Linked DNA regions of Homo sapiens: regions 1, 2, 4, 5 and 6 are each linked to region 3. Evidence: promoter capture Hi-C in 16 types of primary human blood cells and fetal thymus (Javierre and others, 2016). All regions are on one chromosome and are shown on one strand. Each heading gives the region's core, a stretch centred on a gene start or on the middle of the fragment in contact. The rest is flanking DNA. Distances are from core to core; before and after follow the strand shown. Region 1 holds the start of CHAC2 (ChaC glutathione specific gamma-glutamylcyclotransferase 2). Region 2 overlaps SPTBN1 (spectrin beta, non-erythrocytic 1). Region 3 holds the start of ACYP2 (acylphosphatase 2). Region 4 overlaps SPTBN1 (spectrin beta, non-erythrocytic 1). Region 5 overlaps SPTBN1 (spectrin beta, non-erythrocytic 1). Region 6 overlaps SPTBN1 (spectrin beta, non-erythrocytic 1).

What was found. The method cuts DNA at HindIII sites, captures the fragments that hold promoters and counts their contacts. A CHiCAGO score of 5 or more calls a contact.
Region 1: a contact is called between the fragment with the promoter of CHAC2 here and the fragment with the promoter of ACYP2 in region 3, in 8 of 17 cell types (monocytes, naive CD8 T cells, total CD8 T cells and 5 more). The highest score is 11.1, in monocytes.
Region 2: a contact is called between a fragment that was not itself captured here and the fragment with the promoter of ACYP2 in region 3, in 2 of 17 cell types (megakaryocytes and endothelial precursors). The highest score is 6.7, in megakaryocytes.
Region 4: a contact is called between a fragment that was not itself captured here and the fragment with the promoter of ACYP2 in region 3, in 1 of 17 cell types (megakaryocytes). The highest score is 5.1, in megakaryocytes.
Region 5: a fragment that was not itself captured here is called in contact with the fragment with the promoter of ACYP2 in region 3 in 3 of 17 cell types (megakaryocytes, total B cells and endothelial precursors); the score reaches 6.5 in megakaryocytes.
Region 6: a contact is called between a fragment that was not itself captured here and the fragment with the promoter of ACYP2 in region 3, in 1 of 17 cell types (neutrophils). The highest score is 5.5, in neutrophils.

The regions. Positions count from the first base shown.
Region 1 is chr2:53,766,310-53,769,196 of GRCh38, forward strand. It overlaps CHAC2 (ChaC glutathione specific gamma-glutamylcyclotransferase 2), which reads left to right and starts at 1,495. Exons shown (of 3, transcript NM_001008708.4): 1 at 1,495-1,712. The coding sequence starts at 1,578. All of the region lies in intron 1 of ASB3 (ankyrin repeat and SOCS box containing 3), which reads right to left. The region is part of intron 1 of GPR75-ASB3 (GPR75-ASB3 readthrough); the gene reads right to left. RefSeq lists enhancers at 1,467-1,816, 1,837-2,026. The HindIII fragment of the contact is 6,206 bases long and covers 1-2,887 here.
Region 2 is chr2:54,474,510-54,477,320 of GRCh38, forward strand. All of the region lies in intron 1 of SPTBN1 (spectrin beta, non-erythrocytic 1), which reads left to right. Among named protein-coding and RNA genes, the nearest start is that of SPTBN1, 20 kb to the left of the region's middle. The HindIII fragment of the contact is 1,467 bases long and covers 775-2,241 here.
Region 3 is chr2:54,114,127-54,117,132 of GRCh38, forward strand. It overlaps ACYP2 (acylphosphatase 2), which reads left to right and starts at 1,489. Exons shown (of 4, transcript NM_138448.4): 1 at 1,489-1,630. The coding sequence starts at 1,573. RefSeq lists silencers at 1,318-1,387, 1,878-1,937. The HindIII fragment of the contact is 9,756 bases long and covers 1-3,006 here.
Region 4 is chr2:54,458,528-54,461,428 of GRCh38, forward strand. All of the region lies in intron 1 of SPTBN1 (spectrin beta, non-erythrocytic 1), which reads left to right. Among named protein-coding and RNA genes, the nearest start is that of SPTBN1, 3.7 kb to the left of the region's middle. The HindIII fragment of the contact is 546 bases long and covers 1,029-1,574 here.
Region 5 is chr2:54,577,930-54,580,932 of GRCh38, forward strand. All of the region lies in intron 2 of SPTBN1 (spectrin beta, non-erythrocytic 1), which reads left to right. Among named protein-coding and RNA genes, the nearest start is that of SPTBN1-AS1, 21 kb to the left of the region's middle. RefSeq lists enhancers at 1,262-1,311, 2,311-2,360. The HindIII fragment of the contact is 983 bases long and covers 1,223-2,205 here.
Region 6 is chr2:54,607,964-54,610,820 of GRCh38, forward strand. All of the region lies in intron 3 of SPTBN1 (spectrin beta, non-erythrocytic 1), which reads left to right. Among named protein-coding and RNA genes, the nearest start is that of SPTBN1-AS1, 51 kb to the left of the region's middle. The HindIII fragment of the contact is 4,624 bases long and covers 1-2,857 here.

The DNA.
Region 1 (2,887 bases), core at 245-2,744, 350 kb before region 3:
CTCCAGTCAGAGTCCAGTATAGCTCTCATGTGACTCTCTCGAAGACACAATTTCTTGTTAGTGACTCTATGAAGCAGTTTGGATATGGAATACTTATTTGATTACATAACTATTGTTAATTTTCTCAGATGTGATAATGGCATCACAGTTATTAGGAGAATGCCCTTATTCTTTTTTTTTAGGGAACTTGTTCTAGGATGAATGTCCTTATTCTTATGAGACACATGTAGAGTATGTGGCAGTAAAATGTCATAACACAAGCAACTTCAAATGTTCTCCATTTAAAAGTATAAATAAAGTAAAAAGGAAGTACAGCAACTGTGCAAAATGGTAATTACTGGATCTAGATGAAAGGTATTGGTCATTACACTCTTTTTATCTGAGTTTTCTGTGTATTCAAAATTTTTCAAAAAAGAAGGGTTAGCAACCATATCAGGCAATTTGAAACCACAACTTAGAGAAAATAGGAAAAGACTTGCTTTTTTTTTTGTTTGTTTGTCTGGTAGCAGCTTCCTGCTGATTTCTTTATAAGAAAACAAATAATACCCCTTGAATCTGAGTGTTTTAGCATTCAAGATCATGGTATAAAAATCTTCAAGAAAGAACAATCACTTGGTAAGGTTTCTGTTTTCACACACAGAGACACAGCCATGATAGTCCAAGCGAATTTCCTAAACAATATTTTGCAGCAAGAGCTCTAATGAGCAGATCTTCAAAAAATTTTAGGATCCTTGACCCCTTGGAGAAACTCATGAAAGCTGTAGTTTCCCCCTAGAAAAGTGTACACCCCAAATTTTGTATACAAATTCAGGTTCCCCAGCTCGTTTCCAAAGCCTTTACAGGGGCCCCAAGTTAAGAACATTTGCCTGCTCTTTTGTGAACAAGCCAATGATAATACTAAAGATGAATAAATTTGTGTAAAATTTAAATATATAAACAATTCCCATTGAAATGACAGCTACTCTTTCACAAGCGTAAACTTCTATTGTAAACTTTCTGCTTTTATTTGAAAGGCAAAAGACTTTTTTTTCAGGACATAAAATCAAATATGAATTACATTCCTCTGGCTGCTGTTATATAGGCAAAAATCTAATTTCCAAAGCAGAACAAAACGTGTTTCTAGGTGCTTTGCTACCTGCGGTGCTGGTACACCGCCTCCGTATCTGGACACGAGTGACGACTCCTGCTCTTTTCTCCTTCCTCGGCCCCGTTAGAAATAAGCCCAGTTCCAATTTCAGAGCCAAATAGCTCCAAAAAGCATTGTGGGTATTGTAGTTTTCTGCACACGGGCACTAAAGGTAGGTTAGGGTGATTTACGGATGCTGCAAAAGAATCCATTGCTTACTACACCGAAGGTCAATGCCTCTTGACACCCTAATCAAGGAAATAAAATAAAGCTGACTGAGATCCGCTCGGAAAATCTTTCTGGATCTAAACTCCCAGTGCGCTTTGCGCCCCAAGTGGCCATCGCGCCTGCGCCCCGCGCGGCCGGTTACTCGCTTACCGGAGGCTTCAGTCCCCGGCGGCGCGGCGACAGCTAGGGTTCACGGCCACTGGGGCAGAGGAGCCGCGAGAAGATGTGGGTTTTTGGTTACGGGTCCCTGATCTGGAAGGTGGATTTCCCCTATCAGGACAAGCTGGTCGGATACATCACCAACTACAGCAGGCGCTTCTGGCAGGGCAGCACGGACCACCGCGGGGTCCCCGGCAAGGTGAGGCGCCGGTCAGCTCCCCACACTTACTGCCCCCTGACCCCTGCTCCCCAACTCCACACACAGCACCCACACCCTAGAGAACCACACCTTAGCGCTTCATGGGGCCAAAGCACATGGCTTGGGGTAACATTTCTGTAGATTTTCCCTGCCACCTGCCCGCCATCTCTAACCCAGCCCGGGCACTCCTTCCGAAGCTGCTTAAGATGCCGGTGGTTAGTCTCTAGAGACGGCGAGAAGCGCGGGCACAGGCGCACGAGCTCGCACCAGGCTGAGTGCGGAGATGGGGACTCCATCTCTCTGCAACCTCTGCCAAAAGAAAAAAAGTCCCATTGGCGGGAAGATGAATGCTCATGTCACCACAGAGTTGAAATAGTAAATCAAGTTGCAAATTCAGCTTTTTAGCAATTAAATTTGTTGGCATTTCTGCATTCTAGCCGACTTTCATGAGCTTGCGATTAAACGTGCATGTTACTTCTAGGATTTCTTTACATCTTTCAAAAGTTTTATTTTCTGACACACAGGATTGCAGAATGAGTTTCCAAAATTTTCGCTGGTTATTAAGGAACTCACTTTGGTTTTCAGTACTAGTGAAGTTAAATGAAGTTCTGGTTATATGAATAACATAGTACCAAACTCATTACTATATCCAGCATTATTTTAATGTTACTTTCTTGATGGTTCTCATAATTATAATATGAAATGTAAGTTCATTGATTCACTTTTCAGTCAGTCCTACAAAGACATTAATCTCAATATATGTATAGAGAATTAGCAGCAGCTCACTGCTTATGCAAATCAGCTTTGTACTGGCTACAAAACAACTAATCCATAAAGAAAACTAAGATTGAGGTAACTAATAATTTGGAAATTGGTCAATGGAAAGTGGAAAAGATCAAGGCGCTAAAGTAGTTTGCACCTGCTCATAAGAGAGACATGGGATTAAAATCACGAAAAGAACCTGAATTAGAAACCATTCTATCTCAACTAGAGTTGGTCAGTTAAGAACTTGGCTTTTAAGTAGACTATACTGGCCTATTGGGATGTTGGACACAGTGACCTGAAAAGGGGCAATGGCTTAGGATAAATGCACATTTACAGATCAACAGAAATGTCATGGCCAAAGTATCTCCAAGAATGTTCTAGAACAATATTCAAGACATTAAAGAACTAAG
Region 2 (2,811 bases), core at 258-2,757, 360 kb after region 3:
GGTTGGTTGGATTAAATAAGTTATAGGTAAAGCAGTTAGACTAGTGCCTGGAAATATGTAAGTATTATTTACTATATTAATAAAAACTTTAATATTATTATGGAATACCTTCTAATAACATGGGAAGGTTTTTAACATAGGGAGAAAAAGCAGAACACAAGATTATATAAATGGAATTACCGTAACTATGTAGAAAAATATACAAAAGGGATAAGGAAATACTACAAATATTAAGGTTTTTGGGGGAGGGGAGAATGGATGAGATTCCTTGTGATTTTTGCTTTTGTCTCAGAGCTGTTTTGTATTTTCTGCTGTTCTACAGTAAGCATATGTTACTTCTATAATTTGAAAAAGTAAACTTTGTTTTCAAAAGTGGATGTAGGCTGGGCGCAGTGGCTCATGCCTGTAATCCCAGCACTTTGGGAGGCTGAGGCGGGTAGATTGCCTTCAGGTCAGGAGTTCGAGACCAACCTGGCCACATGGTGAAAATACAAAAACACAAAAAATTATAAAAATACAAAATATAAAATTATAAAAATACAAAAAATTAGCCGGGCGTGGTGGCACATGCCTATAATCCCAGCTACTCAGGAGGCCGAGTCAGGAGAATCACTTGAGCCCGGGAGGCAGAGGTTGCAGTGAGCTGAGATCGCGCCACTGCACTCCAGCCTGGGTGACAAGAGCGAAACTCCGTCTCAAAAAAGAAAAAGAAAAGTGGATGTATCCCTTGCAAACGGTTAGTTTGTCAATTATAAGAACAGCTTATTCTTTAAAAGCTTAGGGCCTTCCGTTTGGCAACAGTTTGTCTCCTTTTGGTTCCATAATACTTCCACATTCTTACAGAAGCTAATGGGAAATGCTGGATTAAACCACATTATCTATGCTGTTATCTATGTTTAGAAACTTTTAATGATGACAGATATGCAGTCCCTTCTCTCTGTGGTCACATGGGAGAATCACTCTTGCCTGCTCCCCTTGCATTTTGGTGGCATGTTGGACTAGTTCTGAGGAATGGCCTGTGTCCAGACTGCAGCCAGAGTCCTTGAGTGAGAATGGTAGAGCCTCCTGCTACCATGTGACAGGCACGTAACATGAGTGGGAAACATGCTTCTGTGAGTTTGAGCCACAGAACGGCATTCTTACAGAGTGCCTTGGAGTAATGAAACTCAAAACTATTTTTTAAATTCATCATTTAGTATTTTCCACTAATTCAGACTCATTGTTTAGTGAAAAGAATACAGCCATCGGTAAGGCACATGACTGTTATTAACAGTATGAATTTAGACAAATTATGTAATAGAGTTTTAGTTTTCTTGTGTCAAAGGCCTCACCTCCACAAACTACAAACAAAACTTTTGATGCTTCAAATTAGTCCATACCAGAGTGTTTAGTTTTAATTCACTGCTCTTTAGTGCTTGAAATGAGATTCTTTAGACCAAAGTGGCCTTAAAGGTTCATTCTTGTTGTATGCTTATTCCACATTTCTCTATATATTTATTTTGTCACTTCTGGTCACTATATATAGGTTTATTTAAGAAAAATTCCCTTCCATAGTTTATCAGGCAGGTTAGGCTGGTGCTGCAGTAACAAAGATCTCCAGAATCTCGGTGGCTCAAACTCACAGATGCGTATTTTCCACTCATGTTACTTGTCCGTCACATGGTGGCAGGGTGCTCTGTGCCATCCTCACTCAAGGACGGTGGACTGATGGGCTAGATGCAGGCCATTGATCAGAATAATCAAATGCCCCGCCCAAATGCTAGGGTAGCAGGTAAGAGTAATCCTCCCATGTAGCCACAAAAAGAAGAGACTGGGTATGTGTGATCATTAAAAGTTTCTAACTAAACATAGATAACAGAGTAGGTAATATGGTCGAATCCAGCATTTCCCATCAGCTTCTTTGAAGCACCAGTTTTGCAGTATGTTCACATGTACTGTTGATAAAGGGCATCTCCTGGTCAAGTAAATCTGGAGAATGCTGGGCTTAATAACATGTACTAGGCCTCTTTAGTGAAGGTCGTCTCCGAGCTGTTGTATCCTAACAGGCATTCTGGAGGTGGAGAGTAACATACGATGTTTCCCAAACTTACCTGACCTTTGAATTATTTTCTTACTTTTCATAGCCTCTCTCGGATGCAGGTTTTGTTGAACATGCTTTGGGATACCCTAATTTGTCTAACTTGTTCTCATACAAAGCAAGTATTTGGAATTGCATTTTAATTAATACTTGCATTGGGAAGAAGCTTTGTTTTTATTGTTTGTTAAAAGAGTTGACTATTTGAAGAGAGATTTTTTCTATTGCAAATCAAATTGCAGGCAGTGTTTTTAAAAATTAGTTATTACTGGTTACATGCCTGTGTTGAATCCATAGGACTTTTTCTTCATTTAGTTGCCTTTGTGTTCTAAACTTACCATTGAAAAGAGAAAGGTAAATAAACTTTGACCACATATCTTAGTGGTTATAAAAAAATTAAATTGGTTTGGACAGATGGTCCAAACACACCGAGTTTTTTTTTTATTGGCTTCAGTGTTTTTCTTGGTTCTCTTTGACTTTCTGTAACAAGTTTTCTAGAAGTTTTGAAATGAGATACTACTGAAATGAGGGCTCTGATAAGAAACAGAGAGATAACTTTTGTCAAGAGGTATTAAATATTTCTCTACCAGAAGACTTTGGATTTAAACACAACATTTGTTGCCAGGGATTTTATGCCTGCGTATGTAACAAATCTTAGTATGGAAGTTTTCACTTAAAATGGCTGTAAACTTCATGTAATAAACTTTAGGTAAGAAGGAGCAGCCTCCCCAACCCCC
Region 3 (3,006 bases), core at 239-2,738:
GGATTATTTTAACTGTGTGGCCAGATGCAGAGAAATATGCCAAGGTATTGAGGCCAACAAATAGAGAAATGCAAATTCTCACAAGTAAACAGATTTGGAATTCTAGAAGGTGGCAGATTATCAATAGCTGTATCCAGATCCTTTGGAGTGGTGGATGGTTTTATATTAAAACTTGGTAATAGCTCACCAGGAAATAAAATTCAGCCTTAACCTTCTAGGCAATTGGGATGTTGCTGAGAATAATCAAGACAATCAAAAAAAAAAAAAAAAAAAAAGGTCGGGTGTGGTGGCTCACACCTGTAATCCCAGCACTTTGGGAGGCCGAGGCAGGTGGATCACCTGAGGTCAGGAGTTTGAGACTAGCCTGGACAACATGGTGAAACCCCGTCTCCACTAAAAATACAAAAATTAGCTGGGTGAGGTGGCGCATGCCTGTAATCCCAGCTACTTGGAAGGCTGAGGCAGGACAATTTCTTGAACCTGGGAGGTGGAGGCTGCTGTGAGCTGAGATTGCACTACTGCACTCCAGTCTGGGAGACAAGAGCGAAACTCCGTCTCAAAACAACAGCAACAAACCCACACCAAAAAAACTGTATGAACAGCAGACAAGATGACTACAGTGTTTTTCTTTTGTCTGTTTCCACTAGCATAAAAGACTTCATATTTTTAAAAAGTTTCTTATCCCAGAAAATATCACAATCCGTTTAGAATACGAGTTCAGGCTCAATTCCTTCCTGACTGTACAGAAGAGCTCAAGATGTTGCAGACCTTATCTTAAAAGCTGGCTTGGTAGTCACCTAAACATTTCATAAATAATTTACTAACTCTCAAAACACTAAACACGCAGGCCCTTGATTTCAAAAGCCAATCTTGCTGGGATGGAGTGGGGTGGGGGACCTGGGATGGGGGATGAAAGGGGTTGGAAATGGGGAGATATTGGTCAAAGGGTACAAAGTTTCAGTTAGTGTGAATAATAAGTTCTGAAGATCTGTTGTCTAACATGGTGACTGCGATAAATGTATTGTGTCCTTAAAAATTGATGAGAGTAGATCTTAAATGTTCTCTTCATTAAAAAATGGTGCAATGGATACGTTAATTTCATTGATGTAATCATTTCACAATGCATACATATGTCAAAACATCACCTTGTACACCACAAATATACCCAACTTTTATTTGTCAATTACACTTTAATAAAGCTGGGGGAAGCCACTCTTTTTTTGGGCACAGCATCCGGCTTTTATTTACTAACTTTGAGAACAGAGTACCTTGATCAATTAAATGGTAGGGAGCGCTGTGGAGACAGCATCCTCCCCAGTCCGGGAAGAGAGGCCTAGGATGCCTGGGGCCCAGCGGCCTCTTCCCTCCTGGCGTCCCCGGCTGCCCTCGCTCCCAGGCCCCGCAGTCTCATTTGCCGCTTCCGACGCGTGACCCCGGCGCGCTAGCGTCCGGGACCGGTGACAGGCGCGGGGTGCGCCAAGCAGTCCCATGTGTCCCCTCCCTCTCGCAGCCGCCGCAGTCGCTGCGCCCCGAGCCCCTCTCCGGCTCCTCAACAGAGGGCTCGCCGCCGCCATGTCTACCGCCCAGTCACTCAAATCCGTGGACTACGAGGTGTTCGGAAGAGTGCAGGGTAGGAGGCCCCTCTACGGTGGGAGATCAAAAAGGTTATGGGAGGAAGGGGAGAAAGCTGTGAGAAGCGCCTCCCACCTAAAGTATGCCTTTTCCCGTTGTGGCTGGGACTTCCGCTCCGCCATGACACAGCAGCGGCGGCGGGGAGGGAGGCGAAACGCGCATGCGCCCGAGGACTTGGACGGGCGGAAGTACGGGAATGGGGAGGGAAGTGGGGGAGCGGGAGAGGAGGGGTCAGGGGACTGCTGAGGACCAGAAGTGGGCGGCTGCTGGGTGCGGGAGTAAGCGGCACGGGGGAATGTTGAAGTTGGGTAGGAAAAGAAGAGGGTCTTTTAACTAGTGGTCTCGTTGCTTGCCACTGAAGCTACCTGGGCTTGACTTGAGTTTTAGGAAGGACACTTAGATGGTTTAAGGTTAATTTTTCAGAGGTCAAACCTTTTTTTAGACCTCTTTGTAGCTCTTAAAAGAATGAAATTGTTATCTAATTTTTGTTTCATCCTAAGTTTAAGTAGTTGCCAAGTTTGTAATGTCTGGCTTGTTGAAAATATTGATATTTATAAATGAAAATATTAAGTCACTCTGAGATTTATGCAATGGAATATAAATAGGGTAGTGATTTAACATCCACCATCTTCATTTAAAATAAAACTCTTCAACAATGGGAAATTTTACTCATTTCTTTTCCTCTTTGAATTTGATTTTCATTTCACTTTTCCCACCGAATTACCCCATTGTTTTGCTTGAGGGTTTTTTTTTTTTTTTTGCTCACCCTATCATACTTTTCTGCAATATGTATATGTACATATATGCACATGTATGAATAAGTGTAATGCTTTTTCTTAATTTCCTTTGACAATAAGGCTCTCTTAGAAACAAATGCTGGTTCTTTGGTGCCAAAAAGAAGAACTAGCGCTCAAAGAATTTTCTCAGCAAGGCAATTTTACCTCTATAGAAGGGTGCGACTCGCGGATGAAGCAATGGCAACGGCACACCTGAACAGGGGAGGGGAAGGGGTTCTTATTCCTGATGCAGGTAGCCTCTACTGCTGTGTCTTTCCCCTACTGGCTAGGGTTGGACCGCACAGTCTAAGCTAATTCCGACTGGCTATTTTAAAGAGCAGGCGTACGAGCTCAAGTGGCGGGGTGAATAATTTGGCAGGAAGGGTGGTTACAGAACAGGTGACTCAGGATGATTCAGGTCAGAGCAGGTGACCAGGGGTGACTCAGGATGGAGCAGGTGACCAGAGGAATAGAGGTGAACTACTGATTAGAACTGGTGGAAAAGGTTGTTTACTGAAACTAGAGGCGAGGAGAACGAGGAAGCTAGACTTTAGAGCGCAAAGAACCGAGCATACTGACATACTGATTCTTTGAAGAG
Region 4 (2,901 bases), core at 52-2,551, 340 kb after region 3:
TGTTTGTTTATATGTATTTTTTGTATACATATTTTTCACAGCTGTGACTGGGGAGAGGGTGGAGAAGGGCAGACCACCAAGGCCTCTTGACTGGCATCTAGTCAGAAGGAGATGGTTCCCAGTGTTCTCATGTTTAGTCTCGGCCAGGACACAGGGAATTTCCCTTCTAAATGCCATCTCTATAATTCATTATTCAGTGTGGGATGGCAAATGGGATATATTTCAAATGTCAACCCAGGCTTTCCTAAAATGTTTAGGTGAAAAAGGAAATTTCAATATGCTAGTTGGAAGGGAAGGTCAGTGTTTACAAGCCAAGGGCGTGCCTGCTTGTATTTTTAAATATTTCTAATGAATCCAAGTTAGTTGCTTTTGATTTCATGTGGCTCTGCAGAATAGAACTGCATGTACATTGTGTGGTGTATGTGCGTTATTTTGAGTTTCTCTAATAGCCATTAAAATATGAGACTTTTTGTGCTGGTTGTGTAAAATCGTGTTGCGTACAGATTTTTATGAATGTTGTTCCCATGGATCATCCAAACGTTTTGGATTTACTTTGTTGTAAGAAATATCCTGTGTTGATGTCACAGGAGGTTTAGCTGTTCTGACTTACACAGCAGGTGCAGAATTCTGTTGGGTTAAGCTCTTTGTAACTCTGTCATTACTGGAGTGACCAAAACCTTCATCTGAGAGGAGAAGTATTGGGCAGTGAAGGAACTGCTGTCACTAGGTCGTCTCCCACAGTTGAGGTTTTCTGTGAAGAACTTCTCTTGGGCAAGACTAGTAACAACTATCTGTGATGTTGCAGAGCAAATGAGAAGACCTCCCTCTACTTGTGACACATCCTGAGCAGAGGCTTGGCATTGGCAGAGTTTCCTGGAAGGGTTTGTAGAGTGGTTGCTTTGTCTTGATGTTTGAATGTATGACTTTACATGTGGAAGTACTATTTTGACGTGGAAGGATTTTACTACTGCTAACATAGACATGATTAGTGGAAATCATTCAGTGTGGATTTTGTCGAAATAATTTTAAGCTTTTCTTTTTAATAGCATATTCTTATAGAACATTTTAAAGCCTAATTTTTTTTACGTGCAATGACATGATGCTCCTTTAATTATGTTGCATCGTAACTAGTATCTTCATTATAATTGGGCTTTATTTAATGGCAGCCGTAGTTTCTTTCACTACATTATTGGAAATGCAAACCATTCTTCCAGAAGGAAGGGGCTAACTACCCCTGTTAGAAGAGTGAACTTTGTAGGTCTGTGGAAGTGAGTAAAGCATCTCATGGGTTTTTCTTGTAAATTTTCAGTCTTTGCTTTTTCTCAGGGCATCTTTTCTTTGCAAAAGACCTAGTTTAGTACTCTGATTTTTCCGGTAGCACTTGTAATTATATTTAAATTTTTATTGTGTGGGAATAACATCATCTATTTTTTTCTACTCAGTGGTTAAAGGAAATTACACCAATTAGATATACCTGTGTTTCTATTTTTAAACATCTCTGGAGAAGGCATTTTCATAATGTCCTTTGCTATCATAGTGAGGTTCACGGACCTTCAACATTAGAATCGCCTGGAAGCTTGTTGCAAATGCAGATTCTTAGGCCCCACTCTGAACTCAGCCAATCGGAATCAACATTTTAACAAGACCTTTAAGTGAGTTGTATGCACATTAAATGAAGAAACTCTATTCTGTTCCTTCAGCAAAGGGACCTCAATATCAAAAGTTTCCTTCTTGAATTTTCCTTTCTTTTGCTGAAGTATCAGCACATTTTTTTCCTTGATGGTGGTGACAAAAGTGAGGCTCTCACTGTAAATTATTTGTTTAATACAAAATTATTTTATAAAGCTGTTCTTTAATTCTTGGTGGAAGAGTCCTATATACCATGGTTTATTTAGATTAATCAGTGTTTTAGGTTGTTTTGTAAAACACCTCTAAAGTTGAAAAACAGTCTTTTTCCCCTCTGGAAGAAAAAGGCATTGGTTTTGAGACATCAGAGCTGGAGCCTCGGAAGCTAACCCCTGAGCAAAGGGTCCTCTCTGCTCCCTCTGCTCTGGCATCTTGATGTCTGTCATCTGATATAGTCAATGTCCTGCCCTCTCGTCCAGTCTTTTCTTAGAGTTCTTTTTTGAATCAACTAATTGGTAGGTACAAAATAATGTTCCTAAAATATATGTTAAAGAATCGTAAACCAGCTGGGTGCAGTGGCTCACGCCTGTAATCCCAGCACTTTGGGATGCCGAGTGGGGGCGGATCACTTGAGGTCAGGAGTTCAAGACCAGCCTGGCCAACATGGTGAAACCCCATCTCTACTAAAAATACAAAAATTATCTGGGCATGGTGGCAGGCATCTGTAATTCCCAGCTACTCGGGAGGCTGAGGCAACAGAATCAGTTGAACTGGGGAGGCAGAGGTTGCAGTGAGCCGAGATCGCGCCACTGCATTCCAACCTGGGTGACAAGAGCGAGACTCTGTCTCAAAAAAATAAAAATCATAAACCAAGGGACACTCAGGCAGCCACCGGCTAGTTCAGGAAGAGCCTTATACATTCAGAGCCCACCTCCATCATCCCATCTGAAACAACCCATATCCTTGATTTTGTGCATATCATTCCCTTCTCTATGGTTTATCCTTTTTAAAAAATCTTGATTGTGTATGATTTTGAACTTTATATCAACAAAATTATACTTTATGTATTCTTCTGACTCACATATTTAGATTAAGATTCTATTCCCAAGGTTTATCCATTTCATGGCTGTATTTCATTCAGTTTCACCTGCTGTATAGTATTCTAACGTGATTTATTTATTCATTGTACTCTAGATGGAGATTTGGATTGATTCCAGGTTTTTTTGCTATTGTGAAAGGGTTGCTGTGAGTGGTTTTTGTACACGGCTCTTGGTA
Region 5 (3,003 bases), core at 464-2,963, 460 kb after region 3:
AGACTCTCACTCTTCATTGGTGATGGTAACAAGGAGCAGCATGGTGAATGCCATGTAAAATTCAAGCCTTGCCTTATCTTGGAGGACTTTATTCCCTTTTCTTTGATGGTACTTTGGAGATTCCAGACTATAAAGGACTCAGCTGACAGTACAGACTCTCTTGATCTGTATTTTCCCAGTATATGAAATTATTTGTAATGTACCCGTGAGAACCTGGAATAAACTGTACTGGCACTGAAGTAGAATCTTGGATTTAAAAGTACAGTGTTCACTGCTGCATCGTTGAGCATTTGCTACACAGAGAATAACCTTGGAGCAATGTTCAAAGGTGATGGCATTACCCAGAAACATGGAGTTAGGCCAGGAAACCACATCTGAAGTTCAGATTATTGGAGATTGCTGATTTTTCTTGACTTTAAATATTTTCGACTGGTTGAGTGTTTGTTGGTGTTTTTGGGCTAAGTGTTAGCCTTTTGTTCTGTGATGTCCCTGTGTGAATAAAATGGATAATCCCTGTTTCCGGTTAGCTGCTGCTGCTGCTGCTGCTGCCAAGTATAAGTGAAGACTTCCAGCTGCGATTTGCATTGTGTTTTCAGGCCACCTTTTGAGTTTCCCCATAGCAGATATAAAAACTGTTTCTAAGAGTTCATCCTTACGTGTTCAGCCTTACTTGTATCCTAAAACCACAAACTTGATTTTGTTCCCATTCATTATGATCTATATTTGGCATCAGTGAGGCAAGTTATTTATATTTATTATTTATACCCTGCCCACTTCCAGAAATGATTTAATTTGGCCTAGGCAAGTGTCTTCTGATGGGGTGTGTGTGTGTGTGTGTGTGTGTGTGTGATGATAATTCTGATGTGTGTGTGTATGATGCTACTTCTGCCACTTCAAGAGTCCAGAATCATAAGATTCCTAATAGGATTGTTGGGTTGGTGAATGCTGGGTTTGTTCTCTTCTATGCCCTCTCTGTCCAGGAGAAATCTGAGTATCTTTCTTAGGAATGCCTAACACTGCTAGACTGAAAGGTGCCATGTCACCATTTTTCCCAAGAAATTTTCTTTTGAGGGTGCTATAGAGAAGCCCTCTGGTATGAATGTATTAGGCTGGTGCAAAAGTAATTGTGGCTTTTGCAATTAAAAGTAATGACAAAACTACAATTACTTCTGCACCAACCTAATATATATTATATATTCCCATTTTGTTCTTTTCAGAATAAAGCTTCCTAGGAGTTTCTCTAGCTCATGACCTCTTTTACCTTTACTTTCAGTTGCAGTGTTCTTAGCTCATAGAAGGAGCTTTGACGGCACATAGAATGAAGTATAACAGCTTCCGTTTGACCTGAGGCATCCCTCAGGTATGAGAATGTCACCCAGAGATCGAATACAGTGCCAGGTTATCAACTACCATTTTTTGGGACTGATTCTCTGCTCATGTGTGACCATTATTTGGGGAAATCATACAGTACCACAAACCAGAAGTTTCTGAAAACACCTAAACTCCCCATCTTTCACACTCACCCATAGGGACCGTGGCCCCCAATGAGGGGTAGTTCGTCTCTGTATTGGTAGCATTAGCGCACGTGCTATATAGCTCTCTTAATACCTGAACTGTGGACAGACCAGATCCTCACTGAGCTGAAGCACATTGGCATATTAAGGGAGCCCAGCATTGCTGTTTGGCCCTGCTTTTGAACTGGGAAGATATATTGCTGCATGGAGTTCTGAAAAGTACCTTTGTAAGTCCCGAGAACTCCTGTTGACCTTTGGATTTAGGTAAAATGTAAGTCTTAGGAGAATTGATGAGAATGTAGGAACCAGTTTTAGCCAATGCATTAAGACTAAAATGACTCTATTGTTTGTCAGGCTTTGCCAGAAAGTATAGTGAGAGAGAGAGATCCTAAAACTCTGAAAGCAAATAGCCCACAGCAGTTAACTGTATTGACTTTGGAAACAGGTTATAAACCCAAACCTCTGTGCTGAACTTGAATGGGTGTTTCTTCTCTCCTTTCTGAGGGTAAAAGCTGCTGGTGAGAACGGCTCTCTGGTGTTGCTAGGACAGACCTGTATGACCTTCTTTATGTAAATAATTAACAGGGGAATATTTTCATTTACGTTAAAGCCATATATGAGAGAGATTTCCGGGCTGGCTCTGACAGCCTCTGGCCCCACTGGAGAAGGAAGCCAGCACTGAAAAAATTCAAGCTTCCGGCCACACGGAACCTGAGAATATTCTCTATGACAGCAGTGGCTGTGAAGCTGTTTCTTTAAAGTAAAACCCCTTTTGAAGGTTAGTCTGGGGTGACTTTACTGTTACATAGGGAGTAGATTTTGTTTCTTGATGGTTCGTTGAGTGGTAGAGAGGTTAAAGGTAGAACTAACATATGTAGAACTAAAAAGCATCTGAAACTTTTAGCAAACCAGTAATATTTAGAGGCTTCTGCCCACTCTGGGTAGGCATTTTTATCTTGTATACCCATACCAGCTTTTCACATCCTGTTTCTTGAGAATACATAAAGAGCACATTTCTCCACATTATCAGGAAAACAATTTGAAGCACAGGTCTTGTGAATTGGGAAGACCACTAGTATTGCCATTAGCTGCTTATTTGTGTGTGTGTTGGAGGATGGATTATAATCCAAGTGTATTCATATTCTCACACTTTAACCAAAAAAAAAAAAAAATCTCCAAAATCTTCTCTCTTGCATTGTTTATTGATAGAATGGGAAACTTACTGCTGGTAACTAGTTAATTCTGAAAGGGTTAGGGTTTCTACTGTATACTTCCAAAAGTACAGGCCTGGGGGAGCCAATATGAGAGACACACATAACCAAAAATTTGTAAAAACTTTATTTTTTAATAAAAATTATAAATAAAAATTATAGGCCGGGTGCACTAGCTCATCCCTGTAATTCCAGCATTTTGGGAGGCTGAGGCGGACTGATCACTTGAGGTCAGGAGTTTGAAACCAGCCTGGGCAACATGTTGAAACCCTGTCTCT
Region 6 (2,857 bases), core at 210-2,709, 490 kb after region 3:
GTTTTCCGTACAGCACATAGCTGAGGATCTTAACTACCCAGGGGAAGAGCAGGGAATGGACAAGATACTAAGGTAGGGCTGGCTGCTGCCCTTAATTGCGTGTACCTGGGTTGCTGCAGCCTGGCCCCCTTTCCCCTGTGAGGTCCGCTCAGCACACACCAAGCCCAGTCTGTCTGCTGGCATTCAGTTCACTGTGCACATAACTCTGTGCTCAGAACTGGACCAAAAACCCCTGAGAATATAGAAGTATAAAGCCTCATCCTTGCTCTTAGGAAGCGAACAGTCTAGTTGGAAGTAATAAGAGCAATAAATGAAACAACAGCAAAATTATAATGATGAGTTCCTGGGCTCTGTGGTCCAGCCTGTTAGTTGTAGAGTTGTGAGGAAAAGAAGAGCTGTGAGAACCAGAATGATTGGAAATGGGAATGTCTCCGGGAAGGAAAGATGGGCCTTGGCCTGAGCCTTGGAAGGTAGGTAGGTGTGATGAGGTGAAGAGATTGGGAAGTCAAGATGATGGGTCACAGGCTGAGTGCGTTCTTCTACATGTGGATGTGTGCATCCTCCTGGCATCTTTATGAGATGGTGACATCAGCTCCAGGTGCAGCCTCTACTAGAGGGGGAGTGATGGGAAATAGGAAGGAGAGAAGGATGGAGCCAGATGGGCGAGGGCATGAGCTTGGTGTTGGTACAACAGATAATAGAAACCCATTTTGTGTGCGTGTGTGTGCATGCGCGCACGAGTGCGCGCATGCACACACACAGTGGATCCTTGAACAAAGCAGGGGGTTTAGGGGCACCAACCCCATGCCGCTGAAAATCTTCCTATGCATTTGATTCCCCCAAAACTTTTAATAGCCTACTGTTGTCTTATCAATAATATAAACAGTCAATTAACATATTTTGCATGTTATGTGTATTACATTACTGTAGTCTTAAAGTAAGCTAGGGAAAAGAAAATGTTAGAAAAGGAAGAGAAAATATATTTGCAGATTCATTAAGTGGAAGTGGATCATCATAAATGTCTTCATCCTTGTCTTCACGTTGAGTAGGCTGAGGAGGAAGGTGGGGGGATTGGTCTTGCCATCTTGGTGTAGTAGAAGTGGAGGAGGTAGAAGGGGAGGCAGAAGAGGCAGGGACACTTGGTGTAACTTTATGGAAATAACACAAGCAGTCTTGAATAATTGGAACCCTTGGAACAAATTCAATTTGTTTTCTGGTACTGCTTTTACATCCTCTTCCGCATCATTTGTCATCTTTTTGGAGACACTCATTTTCATCAAGTCGTCTTCCGTTAATTCTTCTGATGTGGTGTCTGATAGCTCTTGAATTTCTCCAAGATCCGTATCATGAAAACCTTCACCCCTCTACCTTTTTGCCATATCCACAACCTCTTTCATAATTTCCTTCATTGGCTCTGTCATAAATTCTGTGAAGTCCTGTGTAACATCTGGACATCATTTTCTTCAGCAGGAATGTATTGTTTCAGGCTCGATGGCTTTCACAGCTTTTTCTGTAACAATGATGGCATCTTCAGTGGTGTAGTCCTCCCAGATTTTCCTGATGTTCTCTCTGTTGGGGATTCTATTCCATAGCATCAACAAATCTTTCCATAGAGTTTTGTGTAGTAATGAGCGTTACAAGTCCTTATGACCCCTTGATCTAGAGGCTGAATTAGGGATGTTGTGTTTAGGGGCCAGTAGACCATGTCAGTGCCTTCAGTGTTGAACTCATGGGGTTCTGGGTGGGGGCATTATCCAATACCAAAAGAACTTTAAAACGCAGCCTCTTACTGGCAAGGTACTTTGAGACTTCAGGAACCAAAACATCAGTAGAACCAATTCAGAAAACCGGTTGTCATTGTCCAGGCCTTCTTTTTGTACAACCAGAAGACTGGCAGCTGGTATTTATTTTTTCCCTTCAAGGCTCAAAGGTTAGCAGCCTTATGAATAAGGGCAGTCCTGATTATAAACCCAGCTGCATTTGCACAGAACAGTAGAGTTAGCCTATCCCTTTATGCCTTAAGTCCTGGTGCTCACCTCTCTTTCTCTTACTGGGCTTTTGTGAACAGGGCACTTTCGTCTGCATTAAAAACTTGTTGAGGCAAGATACACTTTTCCTTCATTGATTTTCTTAATGGTGCCTGGGAACTCATCTGCTGCCTCTTGGTCAGCAAAAGCTGCTTCTCCCAATTCCTTGACATTTTTTAAGCCAAACCTCTTTCCGAAATTATCAGACTGGGAGCTCTGTGAACCTTTCCTGGTTCTGAGGGCTACCCAATTAAAAATTAATAGTCATGCCATCCTTTGCTGGTGTTACATTCTCCAGCCTTAGATCCTTCACCTTCCTATGCCTTTAAATTGTCATATGATGACTTCATTTTTTCTCAAATCATATTAGTCCTTAGGTATGCCTCTCTTATGGCAATCCTGCACTCACATAAAAGATGCATTTTTAATTAATTCATTATTTATTTATTTATTTTGTAGAGACGGGTTTTTGCCATGTTGTCCAGGCTGGTCTCAAACTCCTGGGCACAAGCAGTCTGCCCGCCTCAGCCTCCCAAAGTGCTGGGATTACAGGCATGAGCTGCTGCACCCAGCCAAACGCTGCATTTTCAATATGAGATAAAAAGATATTTCACAAAAAAGTGCAAGGTCTTTGCATCTGCTGGTGTAGCTTCAGGGATGGCTTCACAAATTTCCTTTTCTTTTTTTAGTCTTCAAATGGTGGGCCACCACAACTGTAGACCTCAATCTACAATACATAGCAAGCAGTTCATCCTTTTCTTGTAATGTCATGACTTCTCTCTGCTTCTTGGGAGTACTTCCAGCATCACTAGTGGCACTTTGGGTCTCAT